4 separate regions of the Homo sapiens genome follow, and all the other regions are linked to region 1. The links are contacts of gene promoters, found by promoter capture Hi-C in human tissues and cell types (Jung and others, 2019). All regions are on one chromosome and are shown on one strand. The core of a region is centred on a gene start or on the middle of the fragment in contact, and the rest is flanking DNA. Distances in the headings are between cores, read along the strand shown.

Region 1 (3,469 bases), core at 322-2,821:
ATAGATCGAGACCATCCTAGCCAACATGGTGAAACTCCGTCTCTACTAAAAATATAAAAATTAGCTAGGCGTGGTGAGGCACGCCTGTAGTCCCAGCTACTGGGGAGGCAGAGGGAGAAGAATCCCTTGAACCCAGGAGGCAGAGGTTGCAGTGAGCCGAGATCGCGCCACTGCACTCCAGCCTGGGCAACAAGAGCGAGACTCTGTCTCAAAAAAAAAAAAAAAAAAAAAAAAAACTTTGATCAACAATTTGGAAACTGCCTGTTCTTTTAAAAACGCTCTTTCAGCTGCTGCTAATCCGAGTGTATATTCAGGACAACTTGAATCTCTGCTCCGAGTTGCAGTCTTCGAACTTGACCCAAAAAAACTCCCTGCTTAAATTAGGCTCGCCTCAGTTTTCATTTGTTTTCCTTTAGGCGGACACAGACGAGGGCCACTTAAAGGATGGCCCCTAAACTCCCGGTTGAGTTCTTTTACATATAAAGGGCATCATGCCTTTGAGGAGCTTAGCTTTACATATTAAATGGAGAAACAGAACCTGTCAACATCTGTAGGAAGTGGACAGCGCCAGTTATAAACAGGAGGCCAGGCAAGGTGGCTCACGCCTGTAATCCCAGCACTTTGGGAGGCTGAAGCGGGCGGATCACTTGAGCTCAGGAGTTCCAGACCAGCCTGGCCAACATGGCGAAACTCCGTCTCTACTAAAAATACAAAAATCAGCCCGGCGTGGTGGCGCGCGCCTGTAATCCCAGCTACCTGGGAGGCTGAGGCAGGAAAATCACTTGAACCCGGGATTTGGATGTTGCAGTGAGCGGAGATCACGCCACTGCACTGTAGCCTGGGAGACAGAGCGAGACTCTGTCATTAATAAATAAATATATGTAAATAAAATAAAGCAACAAGAGTTTGCAAAATCCAAAACCACGGGGACTTCTCAACTGCCTTTTCTCCCTTAAGTACCCTCCATTGCTACCCCTGCTCCATCACCTCCTCTTCCGGTCCCTCCTCTAGGGCCCGCCCACCCCTTCCGTTTCCGCCCCGCCCCGCCCCCGCCTTCGCCCAGACCAGGGCCCGCCCGCCTCTTCCAATCCGTTCCCCGACGGCCTGCCCATTGCTTCCGGTCCGTAGCTGAGGCCCCGCCCCTTCAACTGTGCCTCAGCCCGCCATTCCCATTGGCGGAAAATCCCAGACGCCCCTCAAATTGGAGAGGGACAGATGGGCGCTGTGGCTCACGCCCGTAATCACAACCCTCTGAGAAGCCGAGGCGGGCGGATCACGAGGTCAAAAGATCGAGACCGTCCTGGCCAACGTGGTGAAACCCCGTCTCTACTAAAAATAAAAAAATTAGCTGGGCGTGGTGGCGCGCGCCTCTAGTCGGGAGGCTGAGGCAGGAGAATCGCTTGAACCCGGAAGGCGGAGGTTGCAGTGAGCCGAGATCGCGCCACTGCACCCCAGCCTGGCAACAGAGCGAGACTCTGGCTCAAAAAAAAAAAAAAAAAAAAAAAAAATTGGAGAGGGACGCTCTTCCGCCTGCCTGTACCCGGAAGTGACGTTATGTACGTCCCCCCCCGAGGAAGTGACGACAGGCGTGCCCTTGACAGGCAGGGAGGGCTAGGCTGTGCATCCCTCCGCTCGCATTGCAGGGAGGTAGGAGCCCTGTGGGGGTGGCTCGAGGTGGTGTCGCGGCTGAGGCATGCCGCGAGCGCGTTCCTGCGCAGGCTGGCGGCCGGGCGGGCGGGGGGATCTAGCTCGCCGGAGAGCCAGGGTCCCTGGTGATGTCCGATTTTTCCCAGTTCCCTCCACACATGTCCCTTCTTTATTGGTTCCCTCCAGTACATGTCTCTTCGTTTTTGGTTCCTCTCACACTCTTAGTTCCTCCTTGAATTGTTGCGTTTCATCTTTTCAGACGACCCTGGGTTCCAGTGTTGGCTGTCATTTAATAGCGGGGTTACTTTGGGCATGTCACTTAACTTACTTGAGCCTCGTATTCCTTCCCTTACTCGCAGTGTGGGCAGTACAATAGCAACTTCCTGGAAGTTGCTGTAGGAAGACCAATAATGTGTGTAAGGTACTTGGTCCTTACATACATTATTAAATCTGTTGGTTTCTTCCTCCCATTCTTCCGTTATAATCTAAATCCCGATTTCTTTTTGGTTGTGAAGCCAGTTTTCCTGTCCTTCTGGTTTGCCTAGCTGTTCCTTCCCTTTGATTCTCATTGCTTCCTCACTTCCACGCTACAAATCTTACATATGATTTCCTTGCATTTTGCTTCCAACTCTGCCTCTTCCTGAGCCCTGAGTACTCCCCAAATCTTTTTCTAGTGTGTCGACTTCCTTTTGTGTGCCCCAGTTCTTCTGCCTCTTTCCCTCACAGATGGCTCAGCGACTTCTTCTGAGGAGGTTCCTGGCCTCTGTCATCTCCAGGAAGCCCTCTCAGGGTCAGTGGCCACCCCTCACTTCCAGAGCCCTGCAGACCCCACAATGCAGTCCTGGTGGCCTGACTGTAACACCCAACCCAGCCCGGACAATATACACCACGAGGATCTCCTTGACAACCTTTAATATCCAGGATGGACCTGACTTTCAAGACCGAGTGGTCAACAGTGAGACACCAGTGGTTGTGGATTTCCACGCACAGTGAGTATTGGGGGTCCACAGAAGACTAGGGTCCTACTTGTTCAAGTATTTATTGAATGCCTGCTGTGTCCCACGGCCATGTTCTATGCTGCTCATATGTAGACTCAATATACAGACTGGTCAGGCCCAGTCCCTGCCCTCAAGGGGAATGCAGTCTGGTGGAAGACAGACAAGTGAACAGTCTGCAAAGCTGACTGTTAGTGCTGGGAAACACATGTTCTGTTTCTCAATCCCCAGAAAGCTCAGCGTCATCTTTAGCATGGACCAGAGTTGGAAAAATATGACTGTCACCTTGCTTTTGGTGTATACCAGTTCCTGGCCCTGCAGATAAGCTGATGTTAACATCCTGCCATGAAAACCGCAAGAAGGGCTGGCAAAAAGTTATCAGTGTCGGCCGGGTGCGGTGGCTCATGCCTGTAATCCCAGCACTTTGGGAGGCCAAGGCGGGCAGATCACCTGAGGTCAGGAGTTCAAGACCAGCCTGGCCAACATGGTGATACCCTGTCTCTATTAAAAATACAAAATTAGCTAGGCGTGGTGGTGTGTGCCTGTAATCCCAGCTACTCGGGAGGCTGAGGCAGGAGAATCACTTGAACCTAAGAGGTAGTGTTTGTAGTGAGCTGAAGATCGCGCCATTACACTCCAGCCTGGGCAAAAAGAGTGAAATTCCATCTCAAAAAAAAAAAAAAAAAGTTATCGGTGTCACTACCGTGGTGCCCAAGCATACAGGGCATAGGAAGGAGTTTCCTTTCAGTGCTATCTGAGTTTGCTTTAGAGATATTTAAGTCCCTCTGGCCTTCTGAATTTTAGCCTGGGCTTTTTCATTTCTAGAT
Region 2 (3,469 bases), core at 649-3,148, 450 kb after region 1:
GCAATCCCCAAACACCTTTTATATGGAAGTTCTTAGTCACCACTGGTCCCAGATTACGTGGGCAGGAGGTGGGAAGCCTGCGTTCTCATCTGGGTTGGTCTGACTCTGAAGCAGGGATCTTTACTGTTGTACTGTTCCAGCCCCAGCCAGGTTAAACCCAGGTTCAAAGGCCAAATCACACACTGGTTGGAAATGACCTTGGAAATCATCTAACCCAGCGTTTCTCAACCTCCGCACTATTGACATTTGGGGTTGGATAACTCTCCTGGGGGGACCGTCCTGTGCATGATAGGATGTCAAGCAACATTCCTGGCTTCTACACACTAGATGCCAGCAGCACCTCCCCACTGTAACAATCAAAAATGCCTTCAGTCGGCCAGGCGCGGCAGCTAACTCCTGTAATCTCAGCACTTTGGGAGGCCGAGGCAGGCGGATCACCTGAAGTCAGGAGTTCGAGACCAGCCTGGCCAACATGGTGAAACCCCATCTCTACTAAAAATACAAAAATTAGTTGGTGGCGCACACCTGTAGTCCCAGCTACTGGGGAGGCTGAGGCAGGAGAATCGCTTGAACCCAGGAGGCAGAGGTTGCAGTCAGCCGAGATCGCGCCACTGCACTTAAGCCTGGGCGACAGAGCGAGACTCTGTCTCAAAAAAAAAAAAAAAAAAAAAAAAAAAAATGCCTTCAGTCACTGACAAATGTGGGAGTGGAGGTGGTGGAATGGCAAAATTTCTCCTTGGTTGAAAGCCACTGATCCAAACCATCTCATTTTACAAATGATGGAGCTGAGGTCCAAAGAGATGAAGTAACTTGTTTAAGCTAGTTAGCAAAGCCAAGATTAGAATCCAGGTTATTCACGCAATATCCTTTTATTTCTATAACGTACAGGGCACGATATGGAACTCAGAGGAAGTCACTGCAGTCCTTGTCCTCACAGTCTGGTAGGGGAGAGAATCTATTGCACAGATATCTCTATCTCCACGAAGTTGGTAAGTCATAAAGTGCTCCTCAGGCAGCAAGGTACGAAGAAAGAGAATATGTTCTCGTGTTCTGAATTCCGGATCTGCCACTTTTTTGCTGCAGGATTTAACTAAGGTTCAGTTTCATCATCAATGAAATGGAGATCATGGTATCTACTTATATCACCAGTTTGAAACGGGTCTGTGGATGCATTGTGCAAACTCTAAAGCTCTTACAAACATCGGGTATTATTACTAACTTCATTAGGAATGTGAGTTATATTAGAGTAAAAGCTCTCAGAACTGGGGTGAACCATAGAGGGGTGGCTTCATTCCTCGACCTTCCAATTTGAGACATTTTTTCTTCTGCGGGAGGGGAAGCAGGCAAATAGCCTGCCTCTCACAGAGTGCCCATTCCCTCTCCGGGAACCAAGGTGCTCAGGCGAGTAAACTCAGGACTTAACTCTGTACAACTAGTACCGCAAGCAGGAGCCACTCCCTGGCCTTCGGGTCTCTCAAGCCCCGCCTGCTCCAGGATACGGCCCCGCCCAGAAAGGAGACAGACCCCGCCCCCCCCGCGCTGCCCCGCACTCCAGCCGCGCTGTGCCTCCAGGACAATCCCAGGCCCGTGCCGGAGATTCCCGAGCTTCCCCGATCGCTTCCCGGCCTCCCTCGGGCAGCCAGCGAGGAGACTACGGAGATTGCCGAGGGGGCCTGGCCCCGCCCCCCCCGCGGGCCGCCACCGCCCCCCTCGCCGTAGCCTCCCGCGCGGGCTGGAGTTCTACATCCCGGTCCCTCCCTCCCTCCCTCTTTCTCTCTCCCCGCCTTCCCGGTGCTGCCACAGTGGCGGGTCGGAGGATCCCGGCCAGTCAGCTCGTTCCTGCCTCGCGCCCCTCCTCCCCCCAAAATAAACAGCCCTCCCCACGCCTCGGGAGCCCGGACCGCCCCCTTCCTCCCTCGGCCGGCGTGCTGTGAGGGAGAGTGTGAGCCAGCGCGGCCGGTGGGCGAGCTCCGGGAGTGCGAGAGGCGGGGCGGCGCGGCGGGCCGGGCCGGGTTTCGCGTGTGCGTGCGGGGGCGCGAGCGAGTGCTCATCACGACCCGCCAGTGGCCCCGCGCCGACAACCCGGCGGGCGGGCGGGCGGGGAGCAAGCGGTCAGGCAAGGAGCGGCGGCCGCGAGGCGCGGAGGGGCGCGGAGTCCGCTCGCGCGCACGCACGCACGCACGCGGGGGCGGGGGCAGGCGCGCGCCCGCCTGTCGCGACAGTCGGGGCCGAGGCCCAGGGGGAGGTGGCCTGTCGCGGGTCGCCCGGCTCCCGGAGGCGAGGGGGGCGCGGGCGGATGGCGGAGGGCGCCCAGCCGCATCAGCCGCCTCAGCTCGGGCCCGGCGCCGCCGCCCGGGGCATGAAGCGGGAGTCGGAGCTGGAGCTGCCGGTGCCCGGAGCGGGAGGAGACGGAGCCGATCCCGGCCTGAGCAAGCGGCCGCGCACTGAGGAGGCGGCGGCCGACGGTGGCGGCGGGATGCAGGTGACCGCGCGGGACGGGGCGCCCAGTTATTGCGGGGGTGGGCGTGAGGGTCGACACCGGGCTCCCCGGCTTGGAGAGAGGGAGGGCCTCCGGGAGTCCTGGGTTGGAGGTGGGATGGGGGGCCATTCGGGGCCTGGTTGGAAGGTGGGGCGAGCTCGGGCTAGGAACGAAGGTTGCAGGACTGAACCTGGTGTGCCCGAGAGGGTCCTGATTCCTGAGGGGCCAGGAGGCACGACGAGTGGATAGGTTTTGGGGGGAAATCGAACAAGGTTGAGATGGATTCCATTTTTTCAAATCCTTCCTTAGTGCCTTGGGGTGGAGTGGAAGCCGGGAAATCCTGGCTTCTCTGGACTGAGTCGAGGAAAAGGAGATCTGGTGGGAAACCTCCCGAGAAGAGGGAGTACCTTTTGGCAGCCCTGGGCACACGCTGGGATGGGGAAGAGAAGTGGCATTTCAATGAGAGGAGTGAAAAGAAAACTCCTCGAGAGAGCCCCGAGGGGATGTGGCTGAGATTGTGGGTTAAATCACACAGAGTGTGAGAAGTACAAGGAGTTTGGTAATGTTATGGGGACACGGTGGTGCTCAGTCTCATTTACTTTGTGGAGCATACTAATGAGTCTGAAGGGAGACACTAGACATGTCCCTCCTGTTCTTTGCCAATTGCATTCTACATCACCAGGACACAAAATAGCTCTTTAATGTCCCGGGCTATAAAAAAAATTTTTTTATAGGGCTATTAGAAGACTGGATTCTCAATTCTGGATTGAAAGATAAACGTGGTTAATTTGGGTAGGGAATGGGAAAGGTATTGATGTCAGCTGACTTCATAGTTTTGAAGAAGACCTTGAAACCTTTGGAGGTTTTACGATTTGGTCTTTGCCCAGAAAATACTGCTATGACATGATGAGTCTCACCTACCAACAGTTGTGCAGACTTGTGCCTAATTCTCTCGGAGTCATAGGATGTTAGAGGGATGCTAGGAGGACT
Region 3 (3,469 bases), core at 608-3,107, 340 kb after region 1:
TCATTACTCATATACAGCAGGCAAAGAGACAGAAAATTAACTGAAAAGCAGTTTAGAGACTGGGGGAGGCCGGATCTCTAGAGCCATCCTGCTGAGTGCCCTGTGTGTAAGTCCTAATAAACTCACCTACTCACCAAGCTGGACTTATTCGAGTCATTCCTTGGTCTCCTGGCTCCTTTCTCGCTTTGGGAGCAAGTTCCTGTCTGAAGTTTTTGTCTGAACAGTGGTAAAGGTGATGGTGATGATGTCAGCAGACAGCAGGAGGACTTGACAAATGTCAGCCCTGCTTGGGGCCAGGATACACTGAGGGAACGATGACATTCCAATGAAACTCCAAATTCTGTATTGGAAAAGTCATTGATTTGTGAAGAAAAATAAAAGGAGGCTGGGCACGGTGGCTCAGGCCTGTAATCCTGGCACTTTGGGAGGCCGAGGCGGGTGGATCACCTGAGGTCAGTAGTTGGAGACCAGCCAGGACAACACAGTGAAACCCCTTCTCTACTAAAAATACAAAAATTAGCTGGGCATGGTGGTGGGTGCCTGTAATCTTAGCTACTAAGGAGGCTGAGGCAGGCGGATTGCTTGAACTCAAGAGGAGGAGGTTGCAGTGAGCCGAGATGGCGCCAATGCACTCCAGTCTGGGAGACAGAGCGAGACTCCATCCCCCGCGTCCCCCCCCCAAAAAAAAACAAGGAAGAGAAAAGCAAAACCAGATGCCAGGAACCAATCAAGGAACTTTGTGGTGCATTGAGGAGATGAACCAGCCTGCAGTCAAGAGACCCCGCCTCTCTGAGCCTCAGTTTCCTCATCAGCTGGGAAAGAGGGGCTGGACAAGATGATATCTCAGGTCCACCTGGCTCTCTCCTCTTGTGTTCTGGAGATCTGGGTTCAAGCAACACTGATCTATGCCTGTGCCTTTGTGGTGCTGATGGATGGGCTCCCCTGGGCTCTCGGTGCCTGACTTCACTTCCTCATGATCCTTCTTCCAGGGACTCAGGGAGCTAGGCCTCCATGGCCCCTTCTGCTTGTTCTTCTGGTCGGTCATTTCTGGGCGACCCCAGTGCCCAGTGGCCTGTGAGGCACTCAGGGAAAGCTTGTAGACATCTGGCTTGGCCCAAGTGCAGGCATGGTCCCCATCTAGCAGCCAGGGCCCACGAATGACATGGGTCACACAAGGCTGACTAAAATCAGAGGGGCCTGTGTGTAGGTTGAGAGAAAGTCCATGAGAAATAGAGGAACAGAGAGAGATAGCCAGACAGCAAACACCCTCATCCAGTCTGCAAACACCCTCATCCAGTCTGCAAACACCCTCATCCAGTCAGCCCTCTCATTTCACCCAGACTCCTGCAAAAGCTTCCAGAATGGTCTTCCCTGTTATACAGCCCTTGCCACTATCCCTGCCCATCCTCCACACTGGGCCAATTTGCCCCGTAAGAACATAGATTTCTTCAAGCCCATGCTTCCATGTCTTCAATGGCTTCCTATTACTCTTAGCACAAAAGCCCAGAGCCTTCATGCTGTCTAATGTAGGCTGCTGTGGCCTGAGTTCCCCTGAAGGGAGAGCCCTAGGCAAGGCTCCCAGGCAGAGGATTTGTTTGGGAAGTGATTCTAGGAGCAGGACTGGGGTACTGGGAGGAGTGACACAGAGAAGGACAGAAGGCTGATGCCGGGAGAAATTCTTGATAGGGTCACCCATGTGGGCGACTGGAGACCTCCTGAGGAGTCTTCAAGGAGCGTCTTCAGAATGTTCCTCTACAGGGAGGAGAGAGGGAGGCCTGTAACCACTGCTCCTGTCCCCCATGGCCTTGCCCCAGTGGACATTAATTATCTGTATTTCCATGCATAGAATATAGAACTGCTGGGCGCCTCAGCTGGAGCCCAGAGCAGGGGCAAGAGATACAGAATGCACAAAATCACCCCAGAACCTCTCCTAAGTCACTCGTAAAGTGCACCCAGGGCCTACTTAGTCCTTTTTTATGTAGCATCCTGCAGAACACTTGCCTCAGTCCCTGTAACTCTCCATCAGCCAAGGCTTCCCTGACCTTCAGTTGATTCATCTATTTCTTCCTGAAGAAGTCAACAGAGCAACGGCCACCGACTTGCCTAACGCCAGAACATTGTGTTTCATTTGTCTGTCAATTGTTCATCAATTCCTGGATAATTCCCATTCTTTTCATACATTTCACTTAAGCTTTGAATGTTTCTGGCACTGAGTAATTTACTTCTTCAGTGATCCAGCCAGCATTTGCCCTGACACTTAGAGTTGAAATGCCATCAGGCTACCTGCATTTGATGCAATTCCACTGTACTGCTAGTATTGTTTAAAAATTTTTCAATTGCAAGCAACAGAAACAGAAACTATCTGTCTTAAACAAAATAGAAGATTCATTGGATGAAAACTAGAGCAGGTCAGAGGATGGAAGGAAGAACAAAATCTACAGAATTTGGAAGGACAGGAGCAGACCATTACCAACATCAGGAATATATGGTTTGCCCTTTCAGGGCTCTGCCTGCACCTGGCTTAGCTCCACACACTTTGATTCCTAGTGTCTCTGATTAAAGTTTCACATACTCAGTAGACAGAATAGCTTGGGTTAGTGACTCTTCTTGAACTAATCAGTGAGGCTATGGTATCAGGAATGGGGATGGGTAACAGAGACACAAACCCTAATGGGAAGCCTCTGGCCAAACAGCCACCTGAATTTGTGCTCATTGTATACAGTCAATCGCTTGCTACTGCACACACACTCTTCTTCTCATACAAACAAAAAGAACTCTCCTTATCTGCTATGAACCCAGCCATCCCAAGGAAAAAGGCAAATGCACTTGCCTCTTCCCCAGTGAGAGCCACACACAGCATCTCCACCTTCTGCATGCTGAAGTTATGTCACAGGAGGAGGGCCTCAGCACACGATCAATTTTTCTTTTGGTCCATTGGCAGCTTCTGTCTCAGAATTTTTGTGTGTGTATATTTGTAGAAAATAAAGAGGTACGGTCAAGGCTACAGCCACTACTGACCATTGCTGCCACCATCAGAAGTCTTGAATTGTTCCACTCAATGTTCCTCTTACTTATGGGCAAAGTCATTCTCGTGGTGTCTAAGCTCCTTGATGGTCTGGCCTCAGTAAGTTGGTGAAATTTCCTATTCACATTTACACTAATACTCTAACACTTTAGAGTATTACAAGGAGCAATCCTAGGGGATCCCTCAATTCCTCCTGTCCTGCTGTGTAATAACAACATGAGCTTCCCTGGAGGAACATGATGCATGATTATATCCAACCCAGTGACGTCATTGCTATCCCTACATCAGGGAGCATGAGAAGCCAGCTATGGTTTCTGCTGAAACAACTTTTGTCAACCTTAGATACTGAAACTTCCAGACCTAAAAGTCTGTGAGTTAGGAGTATGTATCATAAACAAAATTTTTGAAAGTGGTTTATTGTGGGTAACCATAGAGCTATCACCC
Region 4 (3,469 bases), core at 1-2,500, 260 kb after region 1:
TCAGGGCCCTCAGCTGCACTTAGAAGATCTGGCTAGGATGAAATTTATCATGCAACCAGAAACCTACAGAATCAGTCTCTGAATTTTATTCTCATAGGAGGAGAGTCAGCCAACAACATCGACAGCCACAATTTATTTGATGCCTTCAGGAAACATTTCAAAGCCAGATGTTTGTTTGAAGTGTAGGTCCTGCTTCAGGTCCCAGCGTTCCTTGTCTCAGCCACGTTCCACCAGGTGGCAGCAGGTGCTATGCTGGTCGGCGTGGGGAGTTTCACTGTTGTTCCCCCTCCCTCTCAGCCTGAACGCTAATTCCACAAATACCAACCATCCTGAGGGTCTGTTATCTGCAACCAACTGGTTGGTATCATTTTTTTTTAAATCAGTCAAGATCCTTTGGATGCAAGCAGCACACAGCAAAGCAAAACCAAGACAAAAGCAAATGCAAGAACAAAAACAAATTAGACTTAAACATCCTCTGACCAACTGAAGAGTAGAGGTATGTATTGGAATGATCCAGAGAGAAAGGACACAGAATTAAAGATTTCAAAAAAGCAGAAACCTTTTCTCTGTGATGGACAGAAGACTCAGTTTCCCAAAGAATAAGACATCATATAGACAACATGAGGCCAACTGAATCTGTTTCTCTCTCTCATTTCTTTCTCTTTTATAGTTTGCTCAACAGGCAAACAAAACTCTTCCATCATGTTTTGATATTACACAAAAATCTTGTTCAAAAGAGAAAAACTAAATGTTACCTTTGTATTAATGGATTAGTAATGCTGAAGCTCATTTTATACAATCCTATAAACAAATCTATCAAATTTTAATTAGTTTGATCATGAGGTAAAATTTCCATAAATCTTTTATAGCTTTTAAGATTTTTCTGTTAAAGAGCAGATCAATATACCGAGTATTCCCTATTACTCTGACACAGAGGTTCAGAGGCTGGCCCAGCATCCATGTGCTATTTATGTTCATGTTCAATTTATAGAAAAACTAAATGATTTCTTTTAAATTTTAGCCAAACTTCATCACACATGGTTTCTTTTATGAGATCAATCTTCCACAAACCTACTACAATTTGCTTAAAATTTCTTTTTTGCCATATCTTTCTTTTAACTTGAAATGATCCTTAAAACCTCTAAACTAAACAAAATGATGTTTTCTTAAAAAGAACCACAGTCCCATGCCCTCTTTCAACCCTTTTATCAAAACACATCCTATCTCTTTAATACATTCATTAGTCAGAGTTCTCCAGAGTGACATGGTCAATAGAATACATGTACACACAGAAATACACATAGAAGTGAGTTTATTAGGGAGAACTGGCTCACATGATTACGAGCAGAAATCCCACAACAGGCTCTTGGCAAGCTGGGGAAAGACAGAAGCCCGTAGTGTGACTCAGTCCAAGTCTAAAAGCCTCAAAACCAGAGAAGCCGACTGCGTAGGTCTCGGTCTTAGGATGAAGCCCTGTAATCCTCCAGGAGGCCGCTGGTGCAAGTCCCAGAGTCCAAAGGCCAAAGACCAGGAAGTCTGATGTCCAAGGGCAGGAGGAGAGGAAGGAAGCATCCAGCACGGGAAGACAGAGAGAGTGATGAGCAAGCTGCTCACCCTTTTCTCTTCTGCTTGCTTTGTTCTGGCCTCACTGGCAGCTGATGGGATGGTACTGCCCACATTCAGGGTGTGTCTTCTTCTCTTAGTTCACGGACCCAAATGTCAATCTCCTTTGACAACACCCTCACAGACACGCCCAGAAACAATCCTTTACCAGCCATCTAGGCATTCCTCCGTCTAGTGATGTTCACACCTCATATTAACCATCACAATACACTTTGTGTATAGCCAGAAGGTGGTCTAGGCAGCAATAGATGTAATGTTTTAATTACATACATTAATTGTAATGTGAACTCTTGGTAACTCTTATTTTTATTGAAGAATCTAGGAGGTAAACAGTTTTAATTATGCACCAGATGCGTATCCCAGGATGAAGGGCAATGCCTGGGGTTAGTCCAAAGGCTTGATTCTCAAGACACATAGGTTTACAGATGAGATAAGCAAGCTTTAAAAGTATTACAGAAGCAAACTTTTTTATCCTAATACATCTAGCAGACAATAGTATCTGACCTGCTTGACTAATTCAGCCCAGATATCTAAATTAAGTTTTGAAGACATTTCTATTTTACCAATAATTTTTAAACTGTCTCTAGCAAAGATTATTAAAGTCACATGAAGTGAATGCTATTCAAATGAAAGTTTCTATTTTTCTGATAAAATATTGGATTTAAGTGCTTTTTTTGGCAAGCCAATTAATTAGACCCTTCTATATATTTTGATGGGGAAATATTATATACCTATAACACATATAAATACATAGACACACAGAGATGCGTACAGACCCAGATCCTGTAGATTTGTAAGATTTTTTATTTGTCACTTTTCCAAATTTTTCTCCCCCACTTTAGATTACTAATTTCTTTCTTTCTTTTTTTTTCTTTCTTTCTTTCTTTCTTTCTTTCTTTCTTTCTTTCTTTCTTTCTTTCTTTCTTTCTCTCTCTCTCTCTCTTTCTTTCTCTCTCTCTCTCTCTTTCTTTCTTTATCTCTTTCTTTCTTTCCTTCTTTCTTTTTTTTTGAGACAGAGTCTCACTCTGTCGCCCAGGCTGGAGTGCAGTGGTGCCATCTTGGCTCACTGCAGGCTCCGCCTCCTGGGTTCACACCATTCTCCTGCCTCACCCTCTGAGTAGCTGGGACTACAGGCACCTGTCACTACGCCCGGCTAATTTTTTGTATTTTTAGTAGAGACGGCATTTCACCGTGTTAGCCAGGGTGGTCTCGATCTCCTGACCTTGTGATCTGCCCACCTCTGCCTCCCAAAGTGCTGGGATTACAGGTGTGAGCCACCACGCCCAGCCCACCAATTTCTTGATAACCTGTTTTATTGCCTCAGCAATTGTCAGCCAGATGGCCCAAAGTTCGCACTCTAAAGGAACAAATCTTAGGTGACATCAGATAGAGATTTTACATCTCAAAGTAGAACTAAAACATTTGGCCTAAATATTGTATCATTTTGCTTAAACCAAGGGAAGAAAAACAACTGGAAGCGAACGCAGGTCTGGATGCTCCCCACCTGGATCATCCAATTAACAAGAGCGAGGTCTGCTAGAAAGAAAGTGTTTTTATTAACCAAAACGAGTAAAGGGGAAGTGGCTGGATTCCCTTGGAAAGCAATCACTTTTGCAATCTCTCCATATGACAAAGGTCTAATATTCAGAGTCTACAAGGAACATAAGCAAATTAGCAAGAAAAAAAAACCAAACAACTCCATTATAAAATGGGCAAAGGACATGAACAGACAGTTCTCAAAATAAGACATTCATACGGCCAACAAACATGAAAAAAAGCTCAACATCACTGACCATTAGAGAAATGCAAATCAAAACCACAATGAGATACTATTTCATGCCAGTCA

What was found. The method cuts DNA at HindIII sites, captures the fragments that hold promoters and counts their contacts. A contact is called where the count stands out against the background at its distance.
Region 2: a contact is called between the fragment with the promoter of RBFOX2 here and the fragment with the promoter of TXN2 in region 1, in 1 of the 25 tissues and cell types used here (bladder).
Region 3: a contact is called between a fragment that was not itself captured here and the fragment with the promoter of TXN2 in region 1, in 1 of the 25 tissues and cell types used here (mesendoderm cells).
Region 4: a fragment that was not itself captured here is called in contact with the fragment with the promoter of TXN2 in region 1 in 1 of the 25 tissues and cell types used here (mesenchymal stem cells).

The regions. Positions count from the first base shown.
Region 1 is chr22:36,479,742-36,483,210 of GRCh38, reverse strand. TXN2 (thioredoxin 2) reads left to right here and starts at 1,571. Exons shown (of 4, transcript NM_012473.4): 1 at 1,571-1,647; 2 at 2,374-2,636. The coding sequence starts at 2,374. RefSeq lists an enhancer at 195-1,141. The HindIII fragment of the contact is 22,621 bases long and covers 1-3,469 here.
Region 2 is chr22:36,027,253-36,030,721 of GRCh38, reverse strand. RBFOX2 (RNA binding fox-1 homolog 2) reads left to right here and starts at 1,898. Exons shown (of 14, transcript NM_001349999.2): 1 at 1,898-2,482. The coding sequence starts at 2,297. RefSeq lists a silencer at 1,663-1,732. The HindIII fragment of the contact is 7,839 bases long and covers 1-3,469 here.
Region 3 is chr22:36,136,997-36,140,465 of GRCh38, reverse strand. APOL3 (apolipoprotein L3) reads left to right here. Exons shown (of 4, transcript NM_145639.2): 4 at 1-137. Among named protein-coding and RNA genes, the nearest start is that of APOL3, 22 kb to the left of the region's middle. The HindIII fragment of the contact is 4,055 bases long and covers 1-3,469 here.
Region 4 is chr22:36,218,744-36,222,212 of GRCh38, reverse strand. No RefSeq gene overlaps it. Among named protein-coding and RNA genes, the nearest start is that of APOL4, 19 kb to the right of the region's middle. RefSeq lists an enhancer at 1-125. The HindIII fragment of the contact is 3,793 bases long and covers 1-3,146 here.